4 separate regions of the Homo sapiens genome follow, and all the other regions are linked to region 1. Evidence: promoter capture Hi-C in 16 types of primary human blood cells and fetal thymus (Javierre and others, 2016). All regions are on one chromosome and are shown on one strand. The core of a region is centred on a gene start or on the middle of the fragment in contact, and the rest is flanking DNA. Distances in the headings are between cores, read along the strand shown.

Region 1 (3,913 bases), core at 386-2,885:
GAAGAACATTTATTCACTCTCCACCAGCCTAGGAAATTAATAGTGGGTCCTCAGCCCTGCCACCTTCTGCTGTTATCATCAGCCTTTTAACTCAGGTTTTGATATGGTGAAAAGAGTCACCAGGGTTATTCAGACACCCCGGCTGTCAGGGTCCTTGGTGGTTAAACCTGGGAAAAGGCCACATGAAGACAACTGTAAGCACACATGATCCCTCTGAATTGTTTTCTTTTCCTGCAATTGTGCTTGCTCTTAAAAATTGAAGTTTTAAACAGGGCTCACATGTGATCATCCTTCCATCTATTGGAGTCTAGCTTGAAATGTGACAACCGGAACCAAAAGAACCTTGAATTTGGTGCCTACTTTGGTTTTGGTGCTGCTGCTTCTCAAGATCCTCAGCAGGGATTAAGAAGTTGGGGTGCACAGCAGGAATATCAGGAAATTGGCAGGCTTGACTTCCTGGCAAATTGCTAGCAGGACCACTAAATGCTGAACTGTACTGTGAATGTATACCGAAATACAAGCAATTATTTCTGTACTAAAGGTGTTTTTAATTTTGTATTTGTGTAAAACCACCTTTGGAAGCAGCAACTATCTAGTCAGAAAAGCAAATGATGTTTCCATTAATCTTTTCTGGGGAAAACATTAGTGCTAAGGATTTAACAATCTGTAGGTAAAGTTTAACCTAACAGTATTCCACAAGGAGACTTTTTATTATCAGACGGTTGCCTAATTTTCATATAATTTTTATATTAATATAATCCTTGGTTCCTCCCCATCCCCTTCATAGGCCACAGCTGAGGTGAAAAGGGTCCTGGAATGGCTAGTGAGAGCTAGAAATTCAGACGGGAAAATTGAAACTCAGAGCAGAAAGGCAAGCTGCCCAAAAATAACAACGCTAGTTAATGGCACAATTGCTACCAGACCCAAGTATCCAGACTTCCTGGAGCTGTGAGATCTTTCATCACCACCACTCTCCAGGTACCGGGCAGTGCCTGTTTCTGGATTCAAACTCACAGCAGCGAGGAAATCCTATTTTAGCAAAGTGATCTACTGTTACTGTTGTTAGTGCACCCCTCTCCTGCGTCTCTGCTTCACATCCACTCCCTCGCCGCCCGCCCCCAAACACTTGGATTCTTCCTAGCCTCTCACAGGTCAGCCACCACCAGAGGACCGTGAGCCTCCGGCAAGTGATCAAATACTGAGCCCGAATTTCGGCAGCCGTACCAACGCAATCCTGGGAGCCCATTCCACCCACTCCGCAGCCCCTCTCCCACCTCACCTCTTCCCTTGTCAGAAAAGCGGACGCCGCCTTCCCAGACTCTCCTCATGAAAACAGCACCCATCTAAATAGTGATCATGAAAAATGCCCCTTCCAGTCCACAGAGAAAAAGCTTTCTCCTTTTCTAAGAGTCCATGGGCGCCGCCATGTTGCTGTACGGAAAAACGTTTCCAGGGCGAGTTGAGCGTTCAGGGCACTCCTCGGCGCTCAAGCTGCCCACAGGTCTTCCGACCTAACTTTAGGGGTCGTGCCAGTCTTCGTAGAGACGGCCACACTGGCCCACAGACCCCAGTTCCTGGGGTGACGCAGCTGGGCGCGACCAGCACGCAGCCTTCCAGCGACGAGGCGGTCGCATGGAAGTTACTGCGCGCGTCGTGCGTAATGACGTCAGCGCCGGCGGAGAATTTCAAATTCGAACGGCTTTGGCGGGCCGAGGAAGGACCTGGTGTTTTGATGACCGCTGTCCTGTCTAGCAGATACTTGCACGGTTTACAGAAATTCGGTCCCTGGGTCGTGTCAGGAAACTGGAAAAAAGGTGACTGAATGACATCGGATTAACTTTGTTTCTGCAGAGCTGTTCTGGAGGAAGAAAGTGATGGCGCCAATGACTTAAATTTAGAGGTCCTGAGGCGATGTTTTGGTGTTTGTTTGCTGTTGGGAGAAGCCTCGAGGCCAAAACTGTGCGAGGCGCTGGTTTCACGGGATCTATTAAATTTCTAGTGGCAACGATTTCCCAAGGAGGAAAGGGGAGGGCCTGGGGGACACTGATGAGGAGTGGAGGCTCGGGAGAGGAAACGGGGAAGAATTGAAGGGGGCGGAAAGAGATGGACAAGAGAGGACTCGTTGGGTGGGTTGCGTCTGAATACTAGTGTAGCTTCTTATGGCCGTGTAGGACTGCGTGTAGAAGTCTTCATCTTAAATCATGAGAGCTACATTCTAAGTGGAGATTAAACGTGGACACACAGGTGTGAGTGGAAAAGTTGAATAGATGAACAAGCGCATATTGAAGAGGAAATAGGCGGCCAAAATCAAGAAGAGTCTAATCAGTGTAAAAGACTAAGGAGTACCCAGAGAAGTAAAAGGATTGTCACCTTCCTGAAAGCCAGGGCAGGACCTGAGAAGGCTGGGTGCAGAGATGAGACAGGATCAAAAGTTTTGTCAATCATGTGTATCCTAGGAGACAAATTTTTTAGCAGATGTGAAGGGAGTGACCTGTTAATGTGGTTTGTAAATGGAGGCAGCCTATAGACCATTTTATGGACCGGATGATTTATCCTTGTTGAAGGGGAGATTGATGCCAAAAGGGCAGTAATTGAGGAAACAATGGGTTAAGGACAGAGCAGGAGAGATTGACATTAGGAAAACAGAATAATTCCATTCTCTGAAACCAAAGAAAAGGAAACATTTTGAGGTGAATAAGAGAATTTGAGGTAATTTTTTTGTCTTCCTATTGAAATAGGCACAGCCAACAGCAGTAATGTGGTCTGGGTAACAGACAGGGCTTTAGCTACCACGGATACCCTTGTGAAGGCAAAAACCGTAACTTACTCGTCTTTGCATCTCCTGCATTGCCTAGCACACTCCCCTATATATATAGTGGGCAGTTAATAAATGTTTATGTTGAATATTTTTAAATGGAATTAAATAGATGTTCCTTGCAAATGAGAACTTCAGTGTACATGAACAAAAAAGAGATACCCCAGGGGAAAGATGATGATCTTGAAGAAACAATGAAACCTGACTGTCTTTCTGTTTAAGGATAAATAGTTGCTTAATGTACCATCTCTGTCTGGAAAGTTTTTTTTAAATACTGAATTCGTGAATGTAGGTCATAAGCATGAAGCGCAGTTCAGTTTCCAGCGGTGGTGCTGGCCGCCTCTCCATGCAGGAGTTAAGATCCCAGGATGTAAATAAACAAGGCCTCTATACCCCTCAAACGTGAGTATTTCCCTTGTGGTTCTAATTTGCATGCTTTATCATCTTAGGCAAAGAAATCATAAGAAATAGTTAATATAAAGATGTAATATGAGTGATGTCTTGGTGAATCTTGTCTGTTCCCAGGGGTACCTAATTTTGGATCAATGAAATCTAAAAGTGGGCATGATACTCTGCTAGGTGTTGTTTGTGTCATTTGTTTCACAAATTTCCAAAGCCAAATGCTTTACCAGGCACCCCCTAAAAGGACTGTTAATTCTTGTTCAGTACTCTCTTATTTTTCTCTTTTATTCTAGAGCTACTTGTTTAAGCAGGCTCTGTGCTGTAACTTAGAGTTCACTGAGATATTTCCAATTAGCAAAGCTTCAATCAAATCAGAGCAAAATTATTTGCTCTCATAAGGTATAATATAGTAGCAGCCTACAAAACACCACTCCTCCGAACTCTTTCCTCAAGATTTGCTGGAAAAATATCTGAAAGAACCTGCTGTCATAAACTATAGTTTTTCATTATGAGTGATTATCTTCCAGATAAGAGAAGGCTATTTGTAAGCCATTGTAGAGCTGTATAATTCTTCTCTAGTACCGAGGTACAAGTTACTTGCTAACTGTTTTTAAATTACTTGGATTTACATAGTATGAGCCTATGTTACTTTTAGAAATTTGAAATATTTATATATTTTTCCTTTTGAATACTGTA
Region 2 (3,913 bases), core at 924-3,423, 230 kb after region 1:
AAATGCTTCAATGAGCATTTCCCTTATGTGTCATATCTGCGCTCAAATGTTTTGAATTTTGGAACATTTCTTGTTTCTGACTTTTAGATTAGGGATACTCACCCCGTACCAATATTTGGAGTCCTTAGACATTAGATTATATGAAAATGATTGATTGATAGGTAAGAAAGGTTAAAGAGAAATGACTTTTTAGGAACTAGACTTGAACGTATAATTAATATGTGGAACTAGTTTGCTTTTATAATTCATTGTATCAAGAAGGAGTCATGTTTTAAATCCAAGGCATTGAGACTATCTAGAAGCAAAAAAGTTGGTTTTAAAAATTCTTTTTATTAGAAGTGTGTTTAAAAACATGTCTTTTTTTCCCTTGAGCGACAGTGGCCTCACTACATTGCCCAGGCTAGTCTTGAACTCCTGGGTTCAAGCAGTCTTCCTGCCTTGGCCTCCTAAGTAGCAGGGATTACAGGCATGCACCCACATGCCAATTTTTATTGCTTAAAATGGCGAGTTCTATGGATATTATCTAGCCCCAAGCCCATATCTGTACACTTTTGTTCATTTTATAATACCAGAAAGAATGTTCTATCAGTAAAAGAAGGTTTTTAAGTATGAATCTCCATTTTTGTGGAGTTTTTCTACCCTGTAAAAATTAACTTTGTGGTTCCCAGTAATTACAGTAAGGAGTTTTTCTATATTTTCACAGTTGGATTTATCTAAGGATATTTCTCAGCATATTAAGGAATCCTTTTCTACATTTGAGCAAATACTGAGGTTCATGTTGTACCAAATAATAATAAATTGCTTTTGTGTTTAATATGTAACACGTAAGAACAATTGAAATTTTCTTCTAAGATTTAATACTAGTCTTTTAGTATAAAGGAATGTAACTGGAGAAAAAAATTAATGCTACAGCCATTTATCCTGTGTTATGTGTTATATAATCTGAAATTTGTCACAATGTTACAATCAGGAAGTTTTTTTTCTGGTTTCTTCTTCCAAAGGAAAATAATAGCCTACTTGTATTTTGAAGTAACTGAAATAAAACTCTCTCCAAGCCTTTTTGCACATTACGTTCATCAGTTTTCATGTGTACATTTGGCCAGGCCTATGGTAAAAATAGGCTCAATTTACTTAACATTTTTATAGGGTTTTTGGTATAAGATTCTTTACAGAGACTAAAATTTGTTGCATATATAACATTCAGATTATTTTAAGTGAAATTGGCTCCTATTGTTAAATATTAGTGCTAAGGAAAGTTCAGTCTTCTAAACTGTCTATACTTTGGCTCTGTGACTTGATTACTTTATAGTCATTATGAAATTGATGGGGTTAATTCCATTGTATTTTTAGTATAGAATTTTCAAATAATACATTTTAGTAAAAAAATTGAATGTTTAATTTTCATACTGTGAAACTGGTGAAAAATATTAAAAACAACCATTTAAAACTTCTGGAAATGGTCCTGAGGACAAATGGCAATGAAGAAACATCTATTCAAGAACATTTACAAAAATTCAGTAAGGAAGATGAGAATCTGTGGTAGTTTGAACCAAGACTGACTACTCACTTCCACCTCCAAGCTCAGCAAGCAGACTAACGCAGCCAAAAACGCTGGGTTCCTTATCCCACCATCTCCCAGCCAGAAATTTTTTTCCCGAAAGGAGCGAGACTGTAGTGATTCTTGTCCTGCCTTCAACTGCCTTTTGCTAGCACTAAGTCCTGGGTCAGTGTGGCCAGGTGAGAGCCGTCTTCTCCCCACCAGGCCACAAAACCTTGAACACATGTGCTGAGATTGCTGGGGCCTTGATAACTCTCTGGCTCGTGAAGTAGGATTCTACCCCAGGAAAAGCAAGCCAAGAGGATCTCAGGCTACTGCCCCCTTCCATTGCACTCAGCTTCTAGAGCTAGAATGCCAACTCAAGCTTGCCATTGTCCCCACCTCTAGCTCCAGATCCCTGGCTCAGAGATTTTTGCCTGCAAATGAGGTAGGATGAAAACAAAACAGGTAGCTCTTAATCTCTTTCCAAAGGAACTGACTTTTAAAAAAAGAGCATGAGAAGTTTAAACTAGAGAGCTCGAGACACACAGCAAAAGAAGTGCAACATAGAGTAATTTATTGTAAAGGAGAAAGAATATTTTGAAAGTTAAGTGCAGGATAGACAGTACACCCTGAGAGAAAGGATTCAGGGCAGGCTGCTTTTAAGGGTGAGACTGCAAAGACTACACTAGTGTAAACAATAGAACAGTAAGCCAGCAATTAGTGGAGTTGAACAACAGGGTATATGGTCAAGAGGAAAAAGTGCGCGAGAGTACGCAGGATTTCTGGGGCATACCAAAAGCTGTGCCTCCCTGAGGAAGAACTTGAGAAACAACGCTGTTGGGATTAGGGAAGGATAGACTTCACTAAAATAATCCATCCAGGCACTAAGCTTAAGCAAATAATAATAACCAAACCAGAGGGAGGTGAACTAGTAGAGTAACTACAGTATGTTATTTAAAATGTCCAGTTTCCAACAAAAATGTATGAGGCATGCAAAGAAACAGTGTGACTCATACACTGGAAATAAAGCAGGCAGCAAAAACTGCCTGTGAGAGTGATCAGATGTCAGATTTAACCAAAAATTAAAGTACCCATTATAAATAAATATATTCACAGAACTAAACAAAAGATTAAAGAAGTAAACATTATGACAGTGTCTCATCAAATAAAGAATATCTCCTAAGCAAACTAACAGGAACAGAAAACCAAATACCGCATGTTCTCACTTATAAGGGGGTGTTCAACATTGAGCACACATGGACATAAACATGGGAACAATAGACACTGTGGACTGCTGGGGTGAGGAGGTGGGAGTGGGTTGAAAAACTACCTATTGGGTACTGTGCTCGCTACCTGGGTGCAATATACCCATGTAACAAACCCACACATGTGTACCCCGTATATCTAAAATAAAAGTTGAAATTATGTGTGTGTGTATATATAATTGAGATATATATATATAGAGAGAGAGAGAAATGTTTAAAGAACCATGTGGCAATTCTGGAGTTAGAAAGTGCAATAACTGAAATTTTAAAATTCACCAGGGGGCTTAACAGTAGGTTTGAACTGGCAGAAGAGAGAATAGGTGAATTTGAAGACAGATTGTAGAGATTATGTAAAAACAGAGAGAAAAGGCAATGAAGAAAATAGAGCCTCAGAGAAATGTGGAACACCATTAAGTGCAGCAATGTGCACTTAATGACACAGAAGGTAGGAAAAATATTCAAATACATAATGGCTGAAAACTATTAGAATACAATAATCTATACATCCAGGAAGCTGAACAAATTTCAAGCAGGATGACCACAAAGAGACCAACAGATAGACACATCAAATTCTGAAAGTCAAAGACAAGGAAAAAATCTTGAAAGCAGCAGGAATAAAAGTATAATACACATCTCTTACAAAGACAGCCCCAATAAGATTAACAGCTTCTCAGCAAAAACAATAGAGACCATATGGCAGTGGGTTATCATTTCAAAGTGCTCTAAGGAAAAACAACTATCAATAATTCCATCCCCAGCAAAGCTATTGTCGAAATGAAGGAAAAATACTTTCCTAGATAAACACAATTCATTGCAAGATAAACAATTCATTGCAACTCCAAAGTTGCAAGCAGGCCCACGTCAGAAGAAACACTAAAGGAAATTCTTCAGGTTGAAAATGAAATGACCAGGCTGGGCACGGTGGCTCACGCCTGTAATCCCAGCACTTTGGGAGGTCGAGGCAGGTGGATCACGAGGTCAGGAGTTCAAGACCAGCCTAACCAACATGGTGAAACTCTGTCTGTACTAAAGATACAAAAAATTAGCTGGGCGTGGTGGCGGGCACCTGTAATCCCACCTACTTGGGAGGCTGAGGCAGGAGAATTGC
Region 3 (3,913 bases), core at 405-2,904, 180 kb after region 1:
TACGTTCTTTTATCTTACCAAGTCTATGAAATTTGGTGTTTATTTTACACTGTATATCAGTTCAGACCAGCCACATTTCAAGTGCCCAGTAGTCACACATAGCCATTGGCTACCATATTGGATAATGCAGATCTGAAATAAATCTAAAATTGGGAACTAAAGTTTATCAGTGTCCTGATATAATAATCTACTTCAACATTTATGGTTCATTTTAATCATTGGTTTTGGAAACTATCTTGCTTAATTAATCCTGAATCTTTGCTTGCTTAATTTAGACCATCAGTCCAATCAAGTTGGTATTATCTTTAAATAATATCACCATAAAGTTCTACTGTGTGTCTTTTAATAATGGGGTGTCTTTCCACTGTCACTAATCTCACATTGTACCTTACATGTATTATGAAGATATAAACGTGTGTATATATACCTGTATGTTTATAAATGGAATCCAGATACACATTCAGTTTAGGTATATAATAAGCTTTCCTCCTAAGTATACTATGTTAAATTTTGTCATTTTCCCCTCTCCCCTTCTCTCCTACTCCCCTTTCTAGGCAGAAACATTTAGTTGTAATAAAATAAAAGATAATGACAAAGAAGATGGCTGCTTCTATTTCAGGTATTTCTCAAAACATTTCATATTTTGAATACATATCTTGTTACAAAGTAATTCAACCCTGGAGATATATGTGGGCTCACCTGAGGAAAAGTAATTTATGATCAAATAGAAATGTTAGTGTCTCTAAATTTTTCTCAGTTTTTTGGGAAAAGGTGTGTTTTCGTTTTTAAGCATTAAATTGGTTTTAAGCTTTGTAAATTGTAATTGTATTTGCTTTTGAAACTATCGAAGCCATCAGAAGAATTCTTTTATGTTGTCAGGGCACTTTATAACTTCTTATTATATAGGAGGTTTCTATAAAGATTAGACTGGCTTTTAACATTTCTGTGACTTTGAGCATGTTGCTGCTTCATTCTGGACCTCCATTTTCAAATCTAAAAACATTATGTGTTAAGTTTCTTTACAAATCCTTTATCATCAATAGGGTCAAAATGCTCATTATATTTGTTCAGTGCTTTTTCAGACTAATTGGTAAAGGACCAATCATGGAAGCTCCACCCCTTACCTCTTCCAGTTATTACCGTCTTCCTTCCTGTTGTGCATGCCATGCACACACTCATGTAGACACACACATGCACACACCACAAACCCTCTCCTGATTTGGTCTTATTTAGAGTTCCGTTTATCTTAGCATACATCTCTATAGTCTCTGATTTAGTTGTGCCCATTTTTGAACTTGATATACAATTATTTTCCTTTGCATAAGACTTCTTTCACTCAGCATCATGAGATTCTGTGGCATATAGCTATAAATTCATTCATTTCCATTGCTGTATAGAAGTCCATTGTGTGAACACACTACTATTTTCCATTCTGTTAATGGCTATTTGCATTTTCAATTTTGGGCTATTACAAATAATCTTTATAACACTGGTGCTCATATAAAAGTAAAATTGCTGGGTCATAAGTTCATAGATGTGTATATTTAAATATAGATGTGTATGTTAGATGTTAAATATAGATGTTAAACATAGATGTGTGTGTTTAACTTGAGTAGCTTGAGGGTTTATTTCTTTTTAATACATAGCCTTGCTAGAGTGCAATGCCTAGAGTGCAGTGGCTCACTGCAACCTCTGCTTCCCTGGCTCAAGCGAGCCCCCTGCCTCAGCCTCCCAAGTAGCTAGGACTACAGGAATGTGCTGCCATGCCCAGCAAATTTATTTATTTATTTATTTTGTGTGTGTGTGGAGACTGGGTTTCACCAAGTTGCTCTGGCTAGTCTCGAACTCCTGAGCTCAAAGCCATCTGCCCACCTCAGCCTCCCAAAATGGTGGGATTACAAGCATGAGCCACCGTGCCCGGCCCTTCCCAACACGGTTTTGTGGGTCTTTTCAGGTGTAATCTTCTGGTGGACATGTAATAGAGTGGCATCACACTTACTCTTAATTTGCATTTCCCTGTTTATCATATATTTATTGGCCACTTAGATTACCTTTTGTGAAGTGCCTTTTTTGAGTATCTTAATAACTTTTGTATTATTTTTTATATTAATTTGTAGGAGTTCTTTATATATTAGAGATACAAGCCTTTTGTTTAGACATCTTTGCCTATCCTGTGGCTTGCTTTCTCATTTTATGATATCTTGAACAGCAGTGGTTAATTTTTATATAAGCAAATGTGTTAATCATCTTTTTTATAGTTGATCTTCTTTGTGTCCTGTTTAAGTCTTTCCTTACATTTAGGTCATCAACACATTTTACTATATTATTGTGTTGGGGGTTCCCAATACCAATGCCAGGTTTGATGATTCACCAGGAGGACTCACAGGACTTAATATATAGCTGGGCTCATAGCTATGTTTTATTGAAACAAAAGGATTCAAAGTGAAATGAGCAAGGTAAAAAGCTCATGGGGTGATGTCCAAGGGAAAGCAGACACAGAGGAAGCTTTCCAAGGATTCTGTCTTGGTGAAGTCACAGAGTATGTGCTTAATTCCCCAACAATAAATTGTGACAATGCGTATAAAATGTTGTCAACCAGGGAAGCTCACTGGGGACTCAGCATTCAGGGTTTTTGTTAGGGTGTGGTCACATAGGCAGCCTCTGCCTAGCAAATACCAGATTTTCAGAAGAAAAGCAAGTGTGTAGCATAAACCATATTAGTGCAGTGGTTTAGGCAATGTGAGCCACTCATATCAGTTAAAGGTGAGAACCCTCCTGAAATCTAAACTCACAGATGTCTGCGAAGGGCCCATCTTGCAAGCAGACAAGTGCTTCTAAGGATAGCACTTTAGGTTTGCTGTGTTCTTTTTATACAGTTATACGTGGAATTGATTTTTTTTTTTTTTAATGTATAGTGTGAGGCCAGGTGCGGTGGCTCACACCTATAATCCCAGCACTTTGGGAGGCAGAGGCAGGCAGATCACATGAGGTCCATCGTAAATGATATCTCCTAAAACATTTTTATTTTCTGTTGTTTTTGGTTAGAGAGATGCAATTGATTTATGTATATTGACCTTGTAGCAGTTATCTTTGTTAAACTCCTTCATTTCTTATTTTAAATAATTAATTAATTAATTTAGAGACAGGGTCTCACTATGTCACCCAGGCTGTAGTGCAGTGGTGCAATCATGGCTCACTGTAGCCTTGACCTCCCAGGCTCAAGCAATCTTCCTACCTCAGCCTCTCAGGCAGCTGGGACTACAGACCCACAGCACTACGCCTGACTTATGATTTTATTTTTTGTGGAGACAGGGTCTTACTATGTTGTCTGGGCTTGTCTTAAACTCTTGGGCCTTAGCCTACCAACTAGCTGGGACTATGGGCCCACACCACCACACTTGGTTGATTTTTTAATTTTTGTGGACTCAAGGTCTCATTGCAGGTCTTGAACTCCTGAGTTCAAGCAATCCTCCCACCTCAGCCTCCCAAAGTGCTGGGATTACAGATGTGAGCCACCACTCCTGGCTCTGATTTTATTTGTAGATTCTTTGGGATTTAAGAAAAATGTCTAGGATTTATAATAGTAGGTTTGTTATTTTCCAGTTTTTGTGTATTTTCTTTTTCTTTCTTTCTTTTTTTTTTTTTTTTTTTTGAGATGGAGTCTTGCTCTGTCTCCCAGGCTGGAGTGCAGTAGCATGATCTTGGCTCACTGCAAGCTCTGCCTCCCGGGTTCATGCCATTCTCCTGCCTCAGCCTCCGGAGTAGCTGGGACTATAGGCACCTGCCACCACGCCCAGCTAATTTTTTGTATTTTTAGTAGAGACAGGGTTTCACTGTGTTAGCCAGGATGATCTCGATCTTCTGACATTGTGATCCACCCGCCTTGGCCTCCCAAAGTGCTGGGATTACAGGT
Region 4 (3,913 bases), core at 936-3,435, 160 kb after region 1:
CCAAAGCAAAGCAAAGACAATATGAAATGCTGTAATGACTATTTTAACATTTTGTGTCAAATATTAGTAATTGTCTTGATTTTTACAGTGTCTTTTATAGTGTCTATAACTATTATTGATTTACATTTCCCTAAAATATTTTTCTTCTATTAAAATACATAATTTTATTCTTTCGCTTTTTTTTTTTTTTAAAGAGATAGGGTCTCACTCTGTTGTCTAGGCTGGAGTGCAGTGGCACAATCATGACTTGCTGCAGCCTCCAACTCCTAAGCTCTAGTGATGTGCTCACCTCAGCCTCCCAAGTAACTGGGACTATAGACAAGGACCAATGCACCTGGTTATTTATTTATTATTTATTTTTTGAAAAAGAGGGTCTTGCTGTGTTGCCCAGTCTGATCTCAACTTCCTGTCCACAAGCAGTCTTCCCACCTTGGCCACCCAAAGTGCTGAAGTTATAGGTGTGCACCACTGTGCCCAGCCATTTTGCTTTTTATCGTTCTCATTTGTTTTAGAAAGCTTGGTAAATATCTCTGTTTAAACCACCATGGAAGGACATATAAACCTTTAATTTTTGTATGTAATTTTCTATACACACATAGCTTTTTATTTGTGTTTTTACACAAAGGGATTTTTTTTATTTCTATTTATATTTTTTGAGATGGAATCTTGCTCTGTTGCCCAGGCTGGAGTACAGTGGCACGATCTCAGCTCACTGCAAGCTCTGCCTCCTGGGTTCACGCCATTCCCCTGCCTCAGCCTCCCCAGTAGCTGGGACTACAGGCACCCGCCACCACGCCTGACTGATTTTTTGTATTTTTAGTAGAGATGGGGTTTCACCGTGTTAGCCAGGATGGTCTCGACCTCCTGAGCTCGTGATCCACCCACCTCGGCCTCCCAAAGTGCTGGGATTACAGGCGTGAGCCACCGTGCCTGGCCCACAAAGGGATTTCTATATCATGTGCCAGTAGGATGCTTTTTATTGGTGATTCATCGTGGCTGATAGCAAAGCCAACATGGAGGCAAGAGCTGTAAACAATCTAAGGTTGTGGAGTGGGATAACAAATACTTAAGTAAAACTTCAAAGGTTGCTGAGTAGGGTAACAGATACTTAAGTAAAATACTTAAATGTGATTTCTTAGTAATTGATATGGTGATAGATAATCTAATTGGTTGATTAACTCATACTTTCCTACTAATTATACATCAGTTATTAACATAGCTTGAACCTCAAATGGATACAAGATGTCTTTTACTTTTTAAATTAGAATGAGATGACTCTTCATTCCAGTTCTTTTTAAGCTTGTTATATTTGATAAGCTTAAAGTATTTTTTATGCATTTTCTTTATGCAATAATATGGGCAACATACTTTTGAGCACACTTTCTTGCAAAAGATGACTATGAATTAGGGAGGAATCTGGACTTGGAGGCAAGAGCAGCAGGCATTAGGACTTTTGTAAATACTACAGACCACTCAGGAGAAGACCAAGAATTCAGGTCAGTTAAAACAAATGCCAACGTAAATCCTCTAATAGGCAGTTACAAAATGTTATCCAATGGCAATAACTGAGTTTAGGAGTAAGGCAAGTAAGATACAACAGAAGATGGTTATGTGCCTGACATTCCATGAGGTAGGAATTTTTAATATCACTCACGTGGATAGGCTTCCATAAGTTAAATGGCTGCAACTGGATGAGGAAGGAGACATGAGTTAAGTAAGATTATAAAGGTATTTTATGTTTAAACTTATTTTAAATTTAGTGTGTGCTGTTGAATGGACTATAACTAGATTATGAAATAATGTAATATTTTAATTTTGTGTGCCTAAAATCAATTTATATAGCATAATCTTGGTCTTTTCTTTGATCTGTAGAACACTGGTATGCCAATAATAAATTGTAAATATGCCAATATGTTGACCAGTTGTCTTCAGGGCATCTAGAGGCCTTCTCTGGCTATAAACAACCTTGATCACTTACCCCAATGTGTTATGAATTGAAAAAATACTGAAAGCCTTAATGTAATCTGTTACCATTAAATAATGTATTTTATGGTAGCTGTTTGTCTCTGATTTTATGGAAAGTTCTTAATTTCTTACATCTTTGTTCTTATTCATAAATACTAACAGAGTATGTAACATAATTAAAATTTCACAAGATGGCAATACTTTTAAAGAAACTTGGAAATAAGAGGAAGGGACCGGGCGCAGTGGCTGATGCCTGTAATCCCAGCACTTTGGAAGACCGAGGCCAGTGGATCACCTGAGGTCAGGAGTTTGAGACCAGCCTGGCCAACGTGGTGAAACCCATCTCTGCTGAAAATACAAAAATTATCCATGCATGGTGGTAGGCGCCTGTAATCCCAGCTACTCTGGAGGCTGAGGCAGGAGAGTAGTTTGAACCCAGAAGGCAGAGGTTGCAGTGAGCCAAGATCATGCCACTGCCCTCCAGCCTAGGAGGCAAAGTGAGACTCTGTCTCAAAAAAAATAAAAAGGAGGGGAATCCTTTTAGTCCACATACAATTGTTTTTATTTTAAGAATGTGGCCACTGCCATTTATAACCTGATGGTATAAAATACGGAATTATTAATAGTATAATGCCATCTTAATGACAAAACCTGTGAGTATAACAATGTATGAGATGGTCTTCCATAATATTGAAAGTAAATTCTTCAGGAGTGTAAAATTTCAGTACAGATATCACTCAGTGTTTGTGTTTTCTTCTCTTTCTAGAGTTGTAAAGATGTGGCACCTGTGGAGAAGACTATTAAGTTGCTTCCCAGTAGCCATGTTGCAAGACTACAAATATTCAGTGTAGAAGGACAAAAGGCAATTCAGATCAAACATCAGGATGAGGTTAATTGGATAGCGGGTGATATTATGCATAATCTTATTTTTCAAATGTATGATGAAGGAGAAAGAGAAATCAATATAACATCAGCTTTAGCAGAAAAAATTAAAGTAAGTATCTCTAACAGATTGGTTATTTGTAAGAACTTTTTAAATTTTATGTTTGTAAGACTGAACAAGCCGTTTTATGGGTAGCATCTAAAAAAGAAGCTTGTCACAGAAAAGTTATACTATCATTTCAAATTGTAAGCAGAATAAGCTTTTTTCATGGAATAGGTTGAAATGCAAATGATTCATATGTGACAAAATTATACTTAGAAAAATGATTTTGACACTTAAAAATCTAGGTTTTGGCATTTTGTTTAGTTGTGCTCTTCCTGACTAGCTGTTTTTCTGCAATCATAATCAACATCACCACCTTGATAAAGCTAGCAATAAATTGGTAGCAGTTCTGAAAGCACTAAACAAAAGATCTGTTAAAGGCAAGCAGTGAAACAGTGTTGTTAACTACAGAGCCTCTATTTGGCCATTGGAAATTATTGAAATTGGTATACCACTCTAAAAATATGATCCTTAGAAAAGAGTTTTGTTGGTCCTCATCAACCTGCTGTCATCTAAATATGACATTTGTACCTTGATAGGGTTGAGTCTGCATGTTGAAACTTAACACCTCACTGAACAGGGAGCCAAATCAAAATGTTAAGTCTTATTACATAAAGTAGACAGCTTTTTAGCATTCCTTTGATGGTTGACTGAAAGAATAGTGGACAGTCTATGCTTGCTTCTTTCAAAGTTCAGTTTGTTCTTCTATAATGAGACACATGCATTCTCCAGAATCACTCTGCTGTGCAAAATTGTACAATAAAAAATCACAGGGCTTATGAGGGAAAATGGAAACTAGAGGCACAATACTCAAACTTTCTCAGTAACCCGTTAAGAGAACCTAATAAAATAGTGGCAAAAACAATAATGATAATACATGTTAAATGTTAAGAAATACATAAATACTATAATAATATGGGAGGTTACCTAGCTTGATGAAGCAATGATTGCAGCTTTTGAGTT

The links. Contacts are between HindIII fragments. The CHiCAGO score rates a contact against its expected background, and 5 or more counts as called.
Region 2: a fragment that was not itself captured here is called in contact with the fragment with the promoter of METTL4 in region 1 in 1 of 17 cell types (neutrophils); the score reaches 5.0 in neutrophils.
Region 3: a contact is called between a fragment that was not itself captured here and the fragment with the promoter of METTL4 in region 1, in 8 of 17 cell types (activated CD4 T cells, non-activated CD4 T cells, naive CD4 T cells and 5 more). The highest score is 9.4, in activated CD4 T cells.
Region 4: a fragment that was not itself captured here is called in contact with the fragment with the promoter of METTL4 in region 1 in 10 of 17 cell types (total CD8 T cells, naive CD4 T cells, non-activated CD4 T cells and 7 more); the score reaches 13.4 in total CD8 T cells.

Annotation. Positions count from the first base shown.
Region 1 is chr18:2,569,870-2,573,782 of GRCh38, forward strand. METTL4 (methyltransferase 4, N6-adenosine) reads right to left here and starts at 1,636. Exons shown (of 9, transcript NM_022840.5): 1 at 1,280-1,636. NDC80 (NDC80 kinetochore complex component) reads left to right here and starts at 1,688. Exons shown (of 17, transcript NM_006101.3): 1 at 1,688-1,814; 2 at 3,108-3,217. The coding sequence starts at 3,117. RefSeq lists enhancers at 729-1,651, 1,534-1,693. The HindIII fragment of the contact is 2,186 bases long and covers 1,390-3,575 here.
Region 2 is chr18:2,803,948-2,807,860 of GRCh38, forward strand. It overlaps SMCHD1 (structural maintenance of chromosomes flexible hinge domain containing 1), which reads left to right. Exons shown (of 48, transcript NM_015295.3): 48 at 1-1,070. Among named protein-coding and RNA genes, the nearest start is that of EMILIN2, 41 kb to the right of the region's middle. The HindIII fragment of the contact is 507 bases long and covers 1,921-2,427 here.
Region 3 is chr18:2,751,934-2,755,846 of GRCh38, forward strand. It overlaps SMCHD1 (structural maintenance of chromosomes flexible hinge domain containing 1), which reads left to right. Exons shown (of 48, transcript NM_015295.3): 34 at 555-619. Among named protein-coding and RNA genes, the nearest start is that of EMILIN2, 93 kb to the right of the region's middle. The HindIII fragment of the contact is 1,697 bases long and covers 807-2,503 here.
Region 4 is chr18:2,729,534-2,733,446 of GRCh38, forward strand. SMCHD1 (structural maintenance of chromosomes flexible hinge domain containing 1) reads left to right here. Exons shown (of 48, transcript NM_015295.3): 25 at 2,732-2,959. Among named protein-coding and RNA genes, the nearest start is that of SMCHD1, 76 kb to the left of the region's middle. The HindIII fragment of the contact is 1,741 bases long and covers 1,316-3,056 here.